Regions from separate parts of the Homo sapiens genome. Here regions 2, 3 and 4 are each linked to region 1. Evidence: promoter capture Hi-C in human tissues and cell types (Jung and others, 2019). All regions are on one chromosome and are shown on one strand. The core of a region is centred on a gene start or on the middle of the fragment in contact, and the rest is flanking DNA. Distances in the headings are between cores, read along the strand shown.

The links. The method cuts DNA at HindIII sites, captures the fragments that hold promoters and counts their contacts. A contact is called where the count stands out against the background at its distance.
Region 2: a fragment that was not itself captured here is called in contact with the fragment with the promoter of UTP20 in region 1 in 3 of the 25 tissues and cell types used here (bladder, mesenchymal stem cells and thymus).
Region 3: a fragment that was not itself captured here is called in contact with the fragment with the promoter of UTP20 in region 1 in 2 of the 25 tissues and cell types used here (mesendoderm cells and thymus).
Region 4: a contact is called between a fragment that was not itself captured here and the fragment with the promoter of UTP20 in region 1, in 2 of the 25 tissues and cell types used here (dorsolateral prefrontal cortex and lymphoblastoid cells).

Annotation. Positions count from the first base shown.
Region 1 is chr12:101,278,251-101,281,648 of GRCh38, forward strand. UTP20 (UTP20 small subunit processome component) reads left to right here and starts at 1,855. Exons shown (of 62, transcript NM_014503.3): 1 at 1,855-2,077; 2 at 2,866-2,946. The coding sequence starts at 2,033. RefSeq lists enhancers at 1,554-2,145, 1,879-1,928. The HindIII fragment of the contact is 9,089 bases long and covers 369-3,398 here.
Region 2 is chr12:100,855,949-100,859,346 of GRCh38, forward strand. All of the region lies in intron 1 of ANO4 (anoctamin 4), which reads left to right. Among named protein-coding and RNA genes, the nearest start is that of ANO4, 63 kb to the left of the region's middle. The HindIII fragment of the contact is 3,862 bases long and covers 1-3,398 here.
Region 3 is chr12:100,944,217-100,947,614 of GRCh38, forward strand. All of the region lies in intron 5 of ANO4 (anoctamin 4), which reads left to right. Among named protein-coding and RNA genes, the nearest start is that of ANO4, 150 kb to the left of the region's middle. The HindIII fragment of the contact is 4,136 bases long and covers 1-3,398 here.
Region 4 is chr12:100,985,407-100,988,804 of GRCh38, forward strand. It overlaps ANO4 (anoctamin 4), which reads left to right. Exons shown (of 28, transcript NM_001286615.2): 8 at 2,133-2,264. Among named protein-coding and RNA genes, the nearest start is that of ANO4, 190 kb to the left of the region's middle. RefSeq lists enhancers at 1,361-1,886, 2,939-3,398. The HindIII fragment of the contact is 9,616 bases long and covers 1-3,398 here.

The DNA of each region.
Region 1 (3,398 bases), core at 605-3,104:
AAAAGGCTTTTAAAAAAAAAAGACCAATTATTAGCCTACTGAAAGCCAATGGAACATTAGGCACGTCAATATTTTATTATAAAAAAATCTATAAATGCTATGGAGGCATTAAAATATTTAGAACAACCCTGTGGTGACACAGAAAATGTTGATGTGATAATGCCAATAACAATTTGAAAGTGTTATGTTCACTTTCTCAACTCTGATTACCTCCTCAATCCATGCATATTTCACTTCCTTTCTTCCAACTAGACTGTACTTAGCAAGGTCACCAGTGACCTTCACCTTGTCAGATCCAGCAACCACTTCTCTATCCTCGAATTTGCAGTATAGTTGGCCACCAGCTCTGCTTCCATGCCATAACTAGTCTGTTTCTACCTTACTGGCTCTCTTTCCCAGTCGCAAATGCCTCACACTTGAGGTATTTAGGTGTATTTAAGTCACGTCTGCAGCCCAGACTGCTACAGTGAGCTCTGTACAACAATATATCCAATTGTCTACTTAACATCACTCCTTGACTAAAATGTAAGCATCTCAGACCAAGTATTTCCAGTCTGGGCATGGTGGCTCACCCCTGTAATCCCAGCACTTTGGGAGGCCAAGCCAAGAGGACTGCTTGAGTCCAGAAGTTTGATACCAGCCTGGGCAATATAGCAAGATCCCATCTCTACAAATAATAATAATAATAATAATAATAATAATAATAATAATAAAAGAGCTGGGTGTGGTGGTGCATGCCTGTAGCCCTAGCTACTTGGGAGGCTGAGGTGGGAGGCTCACTTTAGCCCAGGAATTGAAGGCTGTGAATATTTTCAAATAATTAATTAATACTATTATTGCCTTTCTCGTTTGGCTCCCAGAACAGTACCTGGTCCACAGAGGACTCTCAAGAAATAGTTGCTGAATGAATGAATGAATGTAAAATGGGGTAAATAATTATATTTTTAAATTATTTTTTAAAATTGTACATATATGTATATATAACTGTACAATTTAACAACATGCTATGTGTAGACATTAAAGTGATGGGAAAAACACCAAACATTAACAGCGGTTGTGCATGAAATTAAAAGATTTTTCTTAAAACTCCTTCTCTATTTTTCAATTTTATTTACAGCGTAGTGGTTAAGAATACCAAAATTTAGAGTCTGAGTGAAGACTGCCAGTTACCAGCTGCACAACCTTGGTTTCCTCTTGTGTCAAATTGGCTTAAAAATATACACAGTACCGGCCAGGCGCGGTGGCTCACACCTGTAATCCCAGCACTTTGGAAAACCGAGGCGGGCGGATTGCCTGAGCTCAGGAGTTCGCGACCAGCCTGGGCAACAAGGTGAAACCCCGTCTCTACTAAAATACAAAAGAATTAGCCGGGCGTGGCGGCGGGTGCCTGTAGTCCCAGCTACTTTGGACGCTGAGGCAGGAGAACTGCTTGAACCCGGGAGGCGGAGATTGTAGTGAGCCGAGATCGCGCCACTGCCCTCCAGCCTGGGAGACAGAGTGAGACTCCGTCTCAAAAAAAAAAAAAAAAAAGTATATATCTATATATAGATATATAGATAGACGCAGTACCTCCTTTGTATTAACATCCCTAATAAGCTTTACTGTGAAATTATGGATGAAAGGATCTTTGCACGATGCAGGTACGTAGTGAGGGACAGTAATGTTAGTTGATAACGATTACAGGTATGTTTTATTTTATAATGAAAATACATTTGTCTTCTAAACCTTTACCGAAGGGAGTGAAAAGAACACCTCACCCAAACGCCCGCCCTTATGTGCGCAGCCCCGCCTCCTGTAGGCCCCACCCCACCAAAGGGTGCGCCTGCGCCGTTCTTTTTTCCGTCCACGTGACCCACTCAGGCTCCTCCTTGTCTCCAACATGGCGGCGCCCAGGGGCTCAAGCCGCACGTGAGAAAGTCTGGGCATCTGGGAATCGGAGAGTATAGCCTGTGAGCCGCTTTCCCCTCCTTACTGTCGGTTGCATCCCTTCGACACTCCCGAGGCCGTCGCGGGCCACTGGCCCTCTGCAGCCATGAAGACAAAGCCCGTTTCCCACAAGACCGAGAACACCTACCGGGTGAGCGCGGGAGCTTAGGCAGGGAGCCGCGGGTCTCCGCTGCCTCAGTCGTGAGACAGGCTCTGAGCGAGACTCCAGGGGCCTCAGACTTCTGGGCCGAGTGTGTCACTTTCCTGGAGGCTCCGGCGAAAGAGGGAGACACTGGATGTAGTAAACATGGGTTGGAGGAGGAAAGAAGTGTGGACAGCAAGTTTCACCCATGTTTTATGGGGTCTGGCCAGTCCTGGGAATTTCCTGTAGTCCAGAATTAAATTCACTATTCCAGGAGATTGCTTAGGACCAATTCTCCCCTGCTCTTTTATCTTTAAAGACCGAATTGGGCGAGTCGGCTGGCGGTGAGTGATTCCCAGCTAAGGGCAAATATACAGCGCTTTCTCTGTTTGCCCCTTGATAGATTGTTTCCAGGTCTTCCTTAGGATACAATCATAGGTCTGTATATGTTTAAAAACACTTTTATTGCAGCGACTTTGCTAGGTCCCCATGCTTATGGGAGGGTATGAAACCTAATAGATCTAGCGAGACTAATTGCCAGCATCCACCTAGGCTCACCAGTCTGGCAATGGAAATTTTATTTGAAATGACATAGCTGAGAGAAATTATGCAAACATAGAAGTATTCATTATCTTTGAACAGTGATGCAGTAAATTTGTTTACGGCCGTATGTTTTTCAGTTTATTTTTCCACTTATCCTTTGTGATTAGAGATGCCTACATGCAGCATTCAAATAGATATTAAAGATCTGATAAATTTTAATTAATTATGTATCTTAAATATACTTTCCCTTCCAGTTTCTTACATTTGCTGAACGACTGGGGAATGTTAATATTGATATTATTCACCGGATTGATAGAACTGCAAGCTATGAGGAGGTAAGAGAATGTGATACTAGTCAATCTTCAAGTGTTCATGGTGTTTTAGTTTCTTCTGTTAGTAGAAGTGAATTGTTTTTCAAGGTATTCCTTTTTGGACATGAAATGCTTTAGACCTGTGCTGTTTCATACAGTAGCCACATATGACAAATTGGATTTAAAGTAAATTAAAAATTTGGGTGCCCAAATGTGGCTAGTTGCTAACATATTGAATAAATATAGAATTGGAACATTTTCATCTTTGCAGAAAGTTCTGTTGGGTGAAGCTCTATTAGACAATTGACTTGACTTTCAGCTGTCTTTGTGATTCTAGCCTCTCCCTTTCCCTTATGCATTCCAAGCACTGCTGCAGATCCATATTCCTGAAGCTATAACTTTAAAGTGATTTTGAGGAAGCCCTTTTCCCGGGGCTTAATTTTCTCCTTTATAAAAATAAAGGGGCTAGACTACAT
Region 2 (3,398 bases), core at 642-3,141, 420 kb before region 1:
TAATCAAAGAAGGAATTTTATAGAAGAACTTGTATTTCAGCCAGGGATAGAGGAAGGGGTGGAGTTTCCCTGTACAAAGGGAGGCTGGATAATATTCCAGGCTGAGAGAACTTAACGGAGAAACAGCCAGAGGTATGAAAAAGTCTACAGTGCATTTGGAAACTATTGAAATCGATGGTGTGGCTGGAACAATGGGTGAGAGAAAGGAGCTTGTAGGAGACTTGAAGTACTTTGCCGAAGGATTTTGGTTATAATCAGCCAGAATTTTCATTTCTGCCACTAATTGCAAATGCTGGTTTGAGAAAAGCATGCACTGTAGATTCATGGTAGCCTGTGATTGGCAGAACCCACCAGTCTCCTATTTTATAGATGAAAACAATTTCTACGGAAATTAAGAAAATTTTCCAAGTTTACACTAGGAGTGTATCTGAAGGCACACTTGCTCCCTTTTTCAAGAAAAATTTGTTTAGCATCTGTTTGTAACTCAGTAGTAAGTGCTTGGAGGATAGAAAGTAAATACAGTATAGGGTCAACTTCTGTAGCCAGCTGGGGGAAAAACAAATCAATATTTGTAAAATGGCAGGATAAGACAATGATAGAAATGAGTAAAGGGTATTTTGAGAACACAGAAGAGGGGAAGCTATTTCAGCTTGGCAAGAAGGATGAAGAGTGGAAGATGGTGGCTCTATTAAATCATAAAGGATGGATAGGAAGAAGCTTGCCAGGTATACCTCACCCATGGTGAGGGAAGGGAGTTTCAGCCTGAGCAAAGGCACGGGGTAGGAATCAGCATGGTGGATGTGGGAATCAGAGCAGCTTCGCATTGTGGAAGAATCACATGTGAGGCAGAGAGTGGCAGGATATAAAACCAGGGCTAGATGGTGTTTGCTATGGTAAGTAGTATGGGCTTGATTTTTTTAGGGCTGCTGAGGATCTTAAAATATTTAAGAGGGAAACTTGGCAGGACTTTCTGATTGACTGGATGTGGGAGTAAGGATGTGAGGGAGAGAAGAGCAAAATATGATTCTCTGGTAGACTTCTTCTTTCTTCTCTAGTTAGTGAGTTTATCAAGATTTAAGATGGTAGTGGTTTTGTTTCAGCAGAAGCCATGCAGTGTGGTGTCATGTGGCAGTGGAAAAACCATCATGGGGCGTATGGAGACTCAAATGTTCCTGAAATGCCTGAGAGAACATCCAGGGACATTTGGAGGTCACTGCCAGAGGCCATGCACATTGTCCAGTTTTCAGTGGTTTCTCTTCGTTGCTAAGAAGCTTGAACATATACAGAATGCATTTAATAATGTTCAGAAAACCTTCTTAAGTGGACAATCTCAAATGTACAACAGACAAAGCAGAATCAGATATTTTTTTGGATGGTATACCTCATTAGTACAGAATAATTACAACATTAGGTGATAATAATAGCAACTGATATTTATGGAGTACTCACTGTTTTCCATGTAGGATGTTAAATGCTTTACATTCGTGATCTGACTTAATCCTTACCATAATCCCTACTCAAGGAAACAAAGGCACAGAGCATGTAATTACTTGCACACGGTCACTAACTCCAATGCAAACCCTGAGGCATGCCAACTCCAAAGCCCTCATTTATAAACTCCAGGCCATATTGCCTCCCCATGAAGCTGATACGCAGACAAGTGTGGTGCCACTTTGAGATTCTCTGGGTTCAGCTGTCAAACAATGACATCATTAAATTATCCATGTAAAATAAGAAGTTGAGTCCTCTATATCCGCTGTGTTTGAGGAGTGGCAGGATGTGGGATGAAAGAAAGAAATTGGATTGCCTCTGAAGCCCTCTGAATTTGTAATAGAACTACAGCCTCCTCAAACCAAAATTATAAAATAACCTACATCACTCTGAAAGAATTTTCTTACTAAATACGTTAATGTGAGAAGACAAAACCAAACCACCAAAGATAATATTTGAATATTGATAATATTCAAACCTCATTTGAAATCAAACCACTAGAACCAGAAAAGAAAATGAAATGTGACTATTTAATTCCTCAGCAGAGATATATGTATGAAAACATAATTTCTATCACTGGTGATAGGAGAATTTGATATTGAGGACTTCATGAGTTGGGAAGAGCGATTTCTTAAATGAAGGTGATAAAAGCCTGTATAAATAATACAGTCATGTATTGCTTAATGATGGTGATATGTCTGAGAAATGCATTGTTAGCTGATTTCATCACTGTGGGTACATGAAAGACTGCACTTACACAAGCTTAGCTAGTATAGCCCACTACATAGCTAGGGTACATGGTATGGCCTGTTGCTCCTAGGCTGTAAACCTGTACATGTTACTGTATTGAATACTGTAAAAAACTTTAACACAGTGGTATTTTTGTGTCTAAACCTAGAAAATGTACAGTAAAAATATGATATTATAATTTTATGGGACCGCCATCATATATGTGGTCCGTCATTATGAGGCTCATGACTGTCTAAGATAAAACTGTAGGCCTCATACCAAATAGAGAAGATTGGCAATATCTATATGTATATGGGTGTGGATTGTATAATTAATTTCTACTTAGTATCCTTTGCTTCTTAGAAACTTTAAGTTCCCTCAATTTAAAAAAATCCTTCTTGATTTCTTTTGCTTTTTAAAGATATTTTGATGTAAAAGAGCTTTTGTTTTTATTTTCTTTGCCTGGTTCTCCACTCAAAAATTTAATGCCTGTGTGACTTAGAATTCTCATAAGATTTAGCTTTCTGTCTTTTTACAGATATGAAGTGGCATAGTAGGATTTGGGGTCCATTTTCCCTCAGCTTCCTATTTCTTGCCAGTAGCTTCATTGCAAAACCACTCTACCATCTGCCCTGCTTCTTTTTCTGCTTCCACCCCCAGTTCCCTCATTTTCTAATTACTCCCAACAGGAGTGACTCAAACATATATTGGAAGCAAGATTCCCACAGTTGCCAAATAGGAGCAGGGAAGTGCCACGTACTAGGTTTTCACAAAAGAAGTCATTATGTATCTGGATTTTTATCTGCCAGAGAAGAAGAGGAATGCTTGAGGAAGTCAAGTCTCAGGGCAAAAAAGTAACATAATAAACAAATTAGAGAATGGCACTTTCACATTACCATTTCTGTTACATTTTGTGGTAGTCTTTCAGGCTGTTCACAAGTATATGGCTCCCTTCCTTTTTTGGGCTATAGTACAGTATCGTTCCGTGCTAGTATAGTTCGGTCCAGGCTCTTCTGCACTCCACTGAACTCGGATATGGCCATATGACTTGACTTGTTTTAGCCAGTTAAATGTGAGTGGCAGTGACAGGTGTCACTTCTGAGAAGAAGCTTTAAAAGCCAGTGGCTTTAAGAGCATATTTTGATGTCTTATTTTTGACAGTAGTTGCTCTATCAACT
Region 3 (3,398 bases), core at 274-2,773, 330 kb before region 1:
CATCACCTGTACTGCAGTGTTTAGCTACCAGAATTTGAGGAGGATCATGCTGCCTGTTGTACAGTTGTGCTGCACAGTACAGTGTGGAGCATGCTGTGAAGAATGGACTGCTTGTACGATTTTGTCTATATACAAGATAGTTTTGTTTGTTGGAATTTAAAAAAAAAATTTTAACAGGTATTTATTTTAATGTGTACTGGAAAAAATAGCAATTGGAAAAAGGGAATTATCACTATATGGCAAAACATCATAAAAACTTATCTAAGCATTTCCCCCCTCCCCACTTTCCCCCAAAAGTTCTTCTCTGGGCATCACCTTCCATATTTCTCCTTTCCTCCACAATCTTTTAGACACTACAAACAGTTAGGTCTTCCCCTTTCTGGAACCTTCTTCACAAGTGACCTCTCCCGCTGCCTGGCTCGAGTCTTGCCCTGACTTTGCATAAATGGTGCAATTTCTCTCTAATGCAGCCTCCCAGCTCTGCTTTGCATCTTCGTGGACTCAGTCAGCTCAGCAAGAAAAGGGCCTTTGCAGGTTCTCTTATAGATAAATTAATTTTTCCCTGCCATAAATAATTAAAAGAAAATATCCCTTGGCTGAACAGTAAACAAACCTTCATCCTTTATTCTCATAATAAGTGGCAGAATTTTTATATGAAGTATCTACATTGTATTATTAAATTTAGAAACCGTTGGAAGTATTTTTATTTAAATCAAGTTTTTTATAAGCAGCTACAGCAGAAAGACAATTTTAATGGCGATTTCAGCTTCCAGGAGTTAATTCAACCTTTTATAGGACATAAAATGAAGAACTTAGTTCAGGGTGGAAAAGAAGAAACACCCTAGGGACCCTTGTATATCTGAAACGTTTGACACTATGCACATTTTATGAATTATTAGTATCTTCTTAATTAGCTGTTGTCATGATGTCTAACAATTATGAAAAACATGTTTCACAGACAGATGCTTATGTTTCCAAATAGACAAAGACAGGCTTTCTAGTTCAGTTTAACATCCTTATCTCTTTAACATTGAATTTCAAGAAACACAACTAGGATAATCTTTAATTCATGATAAAAGTGAGGACATAGTCAAGTTTAATCTTTCTTAAAACCTTTGCTCCAGGCTGATTAGTCAACACATAAGTGCTTGCTTTGGTACCCTGGGTCTTTAATATTCTGCAATTCAACTTTCATAATAGCCCAGAGAAAGCAATTCACAACAAAGTTCCCAAACAAAATATCATTGAAGTCCAGGTGATTTACTTCTTAGTATCTATCCACTTAAAGTGATTCCCTTCTTAAAGGTAAGCTCATATTTACTAATTAACATTTTCTATTTCTGATTTTTTCATTTTTAATTCTATGTCCATTATTGATCTTTGGATACCTATTTTGAAATCATTGTCCTCAATAAGACATTTATCTTTTCTTTTGTATAACTAGTAAGAGGATGAGTTAACTTTGAATTATTTGGAATGTGTGAGTAACAGTTGTACTAATGGAGCACCCTCCCGCTTCAGAATCATGTGAAACATTGGGGAAGACCTTTATCATTACAGTCCTTACAAAACTAATATAATTAGGTAAATCATATCATCTTGATGATGGTTATTTCATTCAAAAAATATTTATTGCACACTCACTCTATGCCAGGCATTGCTTTAAGGACTAGGATCTCAGCAGCAACAAATAAAACAGAAAAAAAAATCCCTGCTTTGTTGGAACTTAAACAAAAAATATGTACAACATATACAAATATCAGTAAGTGCTAAAGAGAAAAAAGTAAAGCAGGAAGTGTTGAGAGGGGCTTGCAATTTTATAAAAGTCAGCAAGAGTGGGCCTCTTTTCCACAGAAAGAGAATAGCAAGTGCAAAGAGAACAGCTCCACAGGATGGAGCATGCCTGGTGTGTTCATGGAACAGTGAGGATGCCAGTATGACTGGAGTTCACTGAGCAAGGTGAAGAATAGTGAGAAATTACACCAACAAGGCAGTGGAAGCCTTAGTGATCACTGGGGGATGTTAGCTTTTCTCTGAGTGACATAGGAAGCCACTGGAGAGATTTGAGCAGAAATATAAGATCTGTTTTCTGTTTTAATAAGGGCATTCGGGTTGCCTGGTAAGATTAGACTGTGAGGGGTGGAGGTGGCAAGGGCAGAAGCAGGGAGAATAATTAGGAGATTCGTTGCAAGAATCCAGGAAAGAGATGATGGTAGCTTGGTCAAGCACATAGAAGAGAGGAAGATGAGAAGAGTAGAAAGTAGCACTGATGGGAATTGCAGACAGATTGAATGGGCAGTGTAAAAAAGAAGAGTCACAGACTATTTGTCTGACACATGGTATTTATCTAAGCAGTTGGGAGAAGACAGTTGCCACTTACAGGGATGCGGAAAAGAGTAGGTCAAATTGTAGACTTGTTAAGATTGAGATATCCCAATGGAGATGTTGGGTAAGATAGAAGAGTCTGGGATTCAAGGAGAGATCTGGACTAGAGATACACATTTGAATGAGATCTCCAAAGGAGTAACTGCAAATAAAAATGAGAAGAGGTCCAAGGATTGAGCCATGGGGAACACTAGTGTTACAATTTGGATGATAAAAAGGAGGCAGCAGAAGAGACTAAGAAGGAGTCACCAAGGAGCTAGAAGGAAAATCTAGAGTGTGTGGTTCAGGAGAGATGGAGGAATCAACTGTGTCAAATGCTGCTGATGGGGTGTGTACGATCAAAGCTGAAAGTTAATTATTGGATTTAGCAATATGGCAGGTTTGGGTGGTCTGGGCAAGAGAAGTTTCAGTGGAGAAGTCAGGGGTGAAAGCTTCATTAAAGTGTCTTCAAGAAAGAATGGGAAGAGAAAATACAGAGACAACGAATACAAACAGTTCTTTCAATATGTTTCACTGTAAAGGAATGGAGAGAAATAGAATGATAACTGGAGTATGAAGTTTGGTCAATAAAGAGTTCTTTCTATTTTAGATGGGAGAAATAAATACATGTTTTTATGCTAATACAAACTATATATTTGAGATGGAAAATTGATGTTGGGAAAGAGTGGAGGAAGAATTTTTAGAGAAATGTCCTTGAAGCAATAAGAAAAGAATGACCACAAGTATCTCCCATTGCATGGACTCACCTATCTGCCTCTGTGCCCACAAATGCCACCCTTCCCCAGTGCTAAGGGTGTCCTGTCCATACTCATTGGTAAGGCCAACCCTTCACTTTGCTTCTAAGACCCCATACCTTCTCAGTCCCACTCAAATACATTGCTTCCAAAAGAGATAAAATGTAGTACGCTTTAAAAACTGAAATGCACAAACAATACAATTTGTGGAAGTAGTTTGTTTCTGTTTGCACTCATCTCTCAGAAGGAGTGAAAAATCCAACTGCAGTAAACACACAC
Region 4 (3,398 bases), core at 498-2,997, 290 kb before region 1:
GTATTAATAAGTTCATCATCACAACTCTACGAATTGGGTATCATTATCATGCCCATTTTATAGATAAGGAAACTGAGGCTCAGCAAAGTTAAATCACTTGCCCAAGGTTTTGCTGTTAATATTAACAGAGCCAGGATTTGAATCTAGGCATTCCAGCCCCATAGTTCATGTTGTCAACCACTGTGTCATGCTGCTTCTCTAAAGCCCATCATCTCACTATATTTTAAGTATATTTCTTTTGGGGCGGAGGGTTCTCTTGGGGAGGAGGGTCCTAGAGCCACTGTGAGATTCTTTTCAGTTTGACCCTTTGGGAGTTCTGAAGAAGGACAGCCACCACCAAGCAGAGTTGGGATCATGGTGAGGCTGGAACAATGCTGAGAATAAAGGAGATAGTGAAAGAGAAGTTTACCATTATTTTTTAGTTTGGAATTGATTGGTTATATAAATAATATTATCTTCAGCTGAGAGTTTCACTGTGATGGTTAATTTTATATGTTCAACCTGGCTGGGCTAAAGGATGCCCAGATAGCTGGTAAAACATTATTTTGGGGTGCATCTGTGATAATGTTTCCAGAAGAGATTAGCATTCAAATCAGTAGACTTAGTAAAGAAGCTGATCCTCCCCAGTGCAGGTGGGTGCCATCCAACCCATTGAGTGGAACTAGAAGATGGAGGAATAGTGAATTTGCTGCTGCTTGAGCTGGGACATCTCTCTTCTTCTGCCCTTAGACATCAGTGCTCCTGGTTCTCTGGCCTTCAGACTTGGATCAGGATTTGCACGGTTAGCTCATAAGATTCTGGAGAGCAAGAAGTCCCGCAATCTGCAGTTTTTAAGAAGGAGGCCTAGGAAACCTGATGGTGTAAGTCCCATTTCCAGTGTAAAGGCCTGAGAACTAGGAAGGCCAATGTCCAAGGGCAGGAGAAGATGGATGTTCCATCTCAAGCAGACAGCAAATTCACCCTGCCTCCACTTTTTTGTCCTATTCAGGTCCTCAATGGATTAGATGGTGCCCACCTGTGTTGGTGAGGACCAACTTCTTTACTAAGTCTACAAACTCAAACACTGATCTCTTCAGGAAACAACCCCACAGACACACCTCAAAATAATGTTTACCAGCTATCTGGACATCCCTTAACTTAGCCAAGTTGACACAGTAAATTAGCCATAACATTCACTGAAAAGAATACATTGCCATGTAAATATATTGTTTTAATTAGGAAAAAAATAAAGCATGACCAAATTCCACGTGTTTTCAGTTAATAAATTTAGAAGGTATTTTTTCCAGTAGTATAGACACTTGAGGTAGTGCTATCATTTTAAAGTTTGGTGTGGTTTTTGCGCCTTCTGGTGTTTTTCTGTGAACAGTGATTGGGAACTGTTCACTTGGAAGCCAGATGTTTTCATCAGCAGAAGTCAGTGGAACCGAGGGACCAGGGAGATAGCCAGAGAGAAAACTGTAGCTGAAAACCACTTTTAGGATACTGTTGTTTTCATTGACTTGGCTTCATTAGAGTGACACATGTGTGTCACGATGCCCTAGCACCATGAGAACCATGGAGCCTGCTTAAAAAGAGATCAATGAAAGCCAAAAATCCGGCTGCCTGCTGAGAGGCTGCTCAGGGGAGGTGGGAGAGGCAGGAAGCAAATCATGGCATGGAGCTCTCTGCACAACTCCCAGGATGTGCTGCCAGCACCCCCTCCCGAAAGTTAATTACAGCTAGAGCTCTTCTCTGACCTCAGATGTTTTCCAAACACAAAATGAATTTTTTAGAACCTACAGAATGTAAGTTAAGATCTCTGCTGCTTGCTTAAGGGACTGTTGGAATCCTTTTCAGAGCTTTCCAGCCTTGTTAGGACTGCTTGGTCATTTATTATTGGCATGTGGGTGGACATCTAACTCACAGCTGCTATTTCACAAACAGTAATAATATTGAGGCCACTTGGTGAAATCAAAACAACACTAGAGTTCTGGCTGTCTTCTTTCCATCTATAAAACAAGGATATCCTGAGTGCAGTGAGAGGGCCTGGAATGTGTGGTATGATAGTTGTGGCTCTGCGGAGACCTTCCTCCTGTGTTTCAGGGCATTGCTGACATGCTGTACCCTTTGGTCTTGCCTTCCATGTACCACAGGATCGATAAACAAATAAGCAGGTTTCGGAGATGGTTACCTAAGAAGCCAATGAGGCTGGACAAGGAGACACTGCCAGACCTGGAGGAGAATGACTGCTACACTGCCCCTTTCAGCCAGCAAAGGATCCATCAGTGAGTGTTCCATGTTAAAGCCCCATCTCACTAAGGATGTGCAGCTGTGGTAGAGCCTCACCCTGCACGCCTTTGATTCCTGGGCATGAGGAAGGAACAGCATAGTGCCCTTCTCCCCTAAAAGTCTTGTGAGTGTTCATATCCCTTTTATTTCAGTCAGGGGAAGATAACTGCTGTAACCAACAATCCCTGCATCTCAGTGGCTTAAGATGATACAATGCTTGCTCATGTGTGTGTTGGGTAAATGATCTTCTCCACAGAAAGGCAGTGACCCAGGCTCTGTCATTCTCATTGCTCTGCCAACTCCCTGTGCACGGAGCCCCCTGCAGGCTCATCTGCATCTAGCCAGCAGACAGGAGGAGTGGCCTACACCTTTTCCCATTGAAAAGAGGGTTTTTTGTTTTCCGGTTTTTGTTTTATCTTGGTTCACTTCTCAGTTCCCCTTTCTTCAGCAGTTCACTGGGTTGCCTTAGGAAAAGCCACATCACCTGGCAGCCCACTTGCTGAGTCATCTGTCAGATTGTCTCAGAATGGTTATTTGTCACTTTTGACATGGGGGGAGGAAAAACAAGTTGGCTAAGTCACTGAGCCTGTGAGGAACTGCAAAAATGAAAGAGAATTTACTCTGAAGCTTCTGAGATGACAAGAAATGATGGCTGGATGCAGGGCAGGGCAGGCAGGAGGACAGAAAAGCCTGCCGTGTGCTGGAGACTGTAAACAATAGGAGAAACACAGCCTCTCAGTGGAGGCAGAGATCAGGTCAGCCCCACCTCCCTTGCAACAAGATCAGGAATTCCAGGCCCTCTTGCTCCAGCAGTAGTGACAGCCTCCATAAAAATGACTTACCTGGAGGGAAGAAAAGGGTGATGGATTTAAAAAAAAAAAAAAAAAGGTTGCTGATTTTGTGAGAAAGTAAACCAGGCTGAGTGCTGTGGCTCACATCTGTAATACCTGCACTTTGGGAGGCAGAGGCAGGCAGATCACGAGGTCAAGAGTTTGAGACCAGCCTGACCAACATGGTGAAACCCCGTCTCTACTAAAAACACAAAAATTAGCTGGGCATGGTGGTGCACACCTGTAATCCCAGCTACTCAGGAGGCTGAGGCAGGAGAATCACTTGAACCTGGGAGGCGG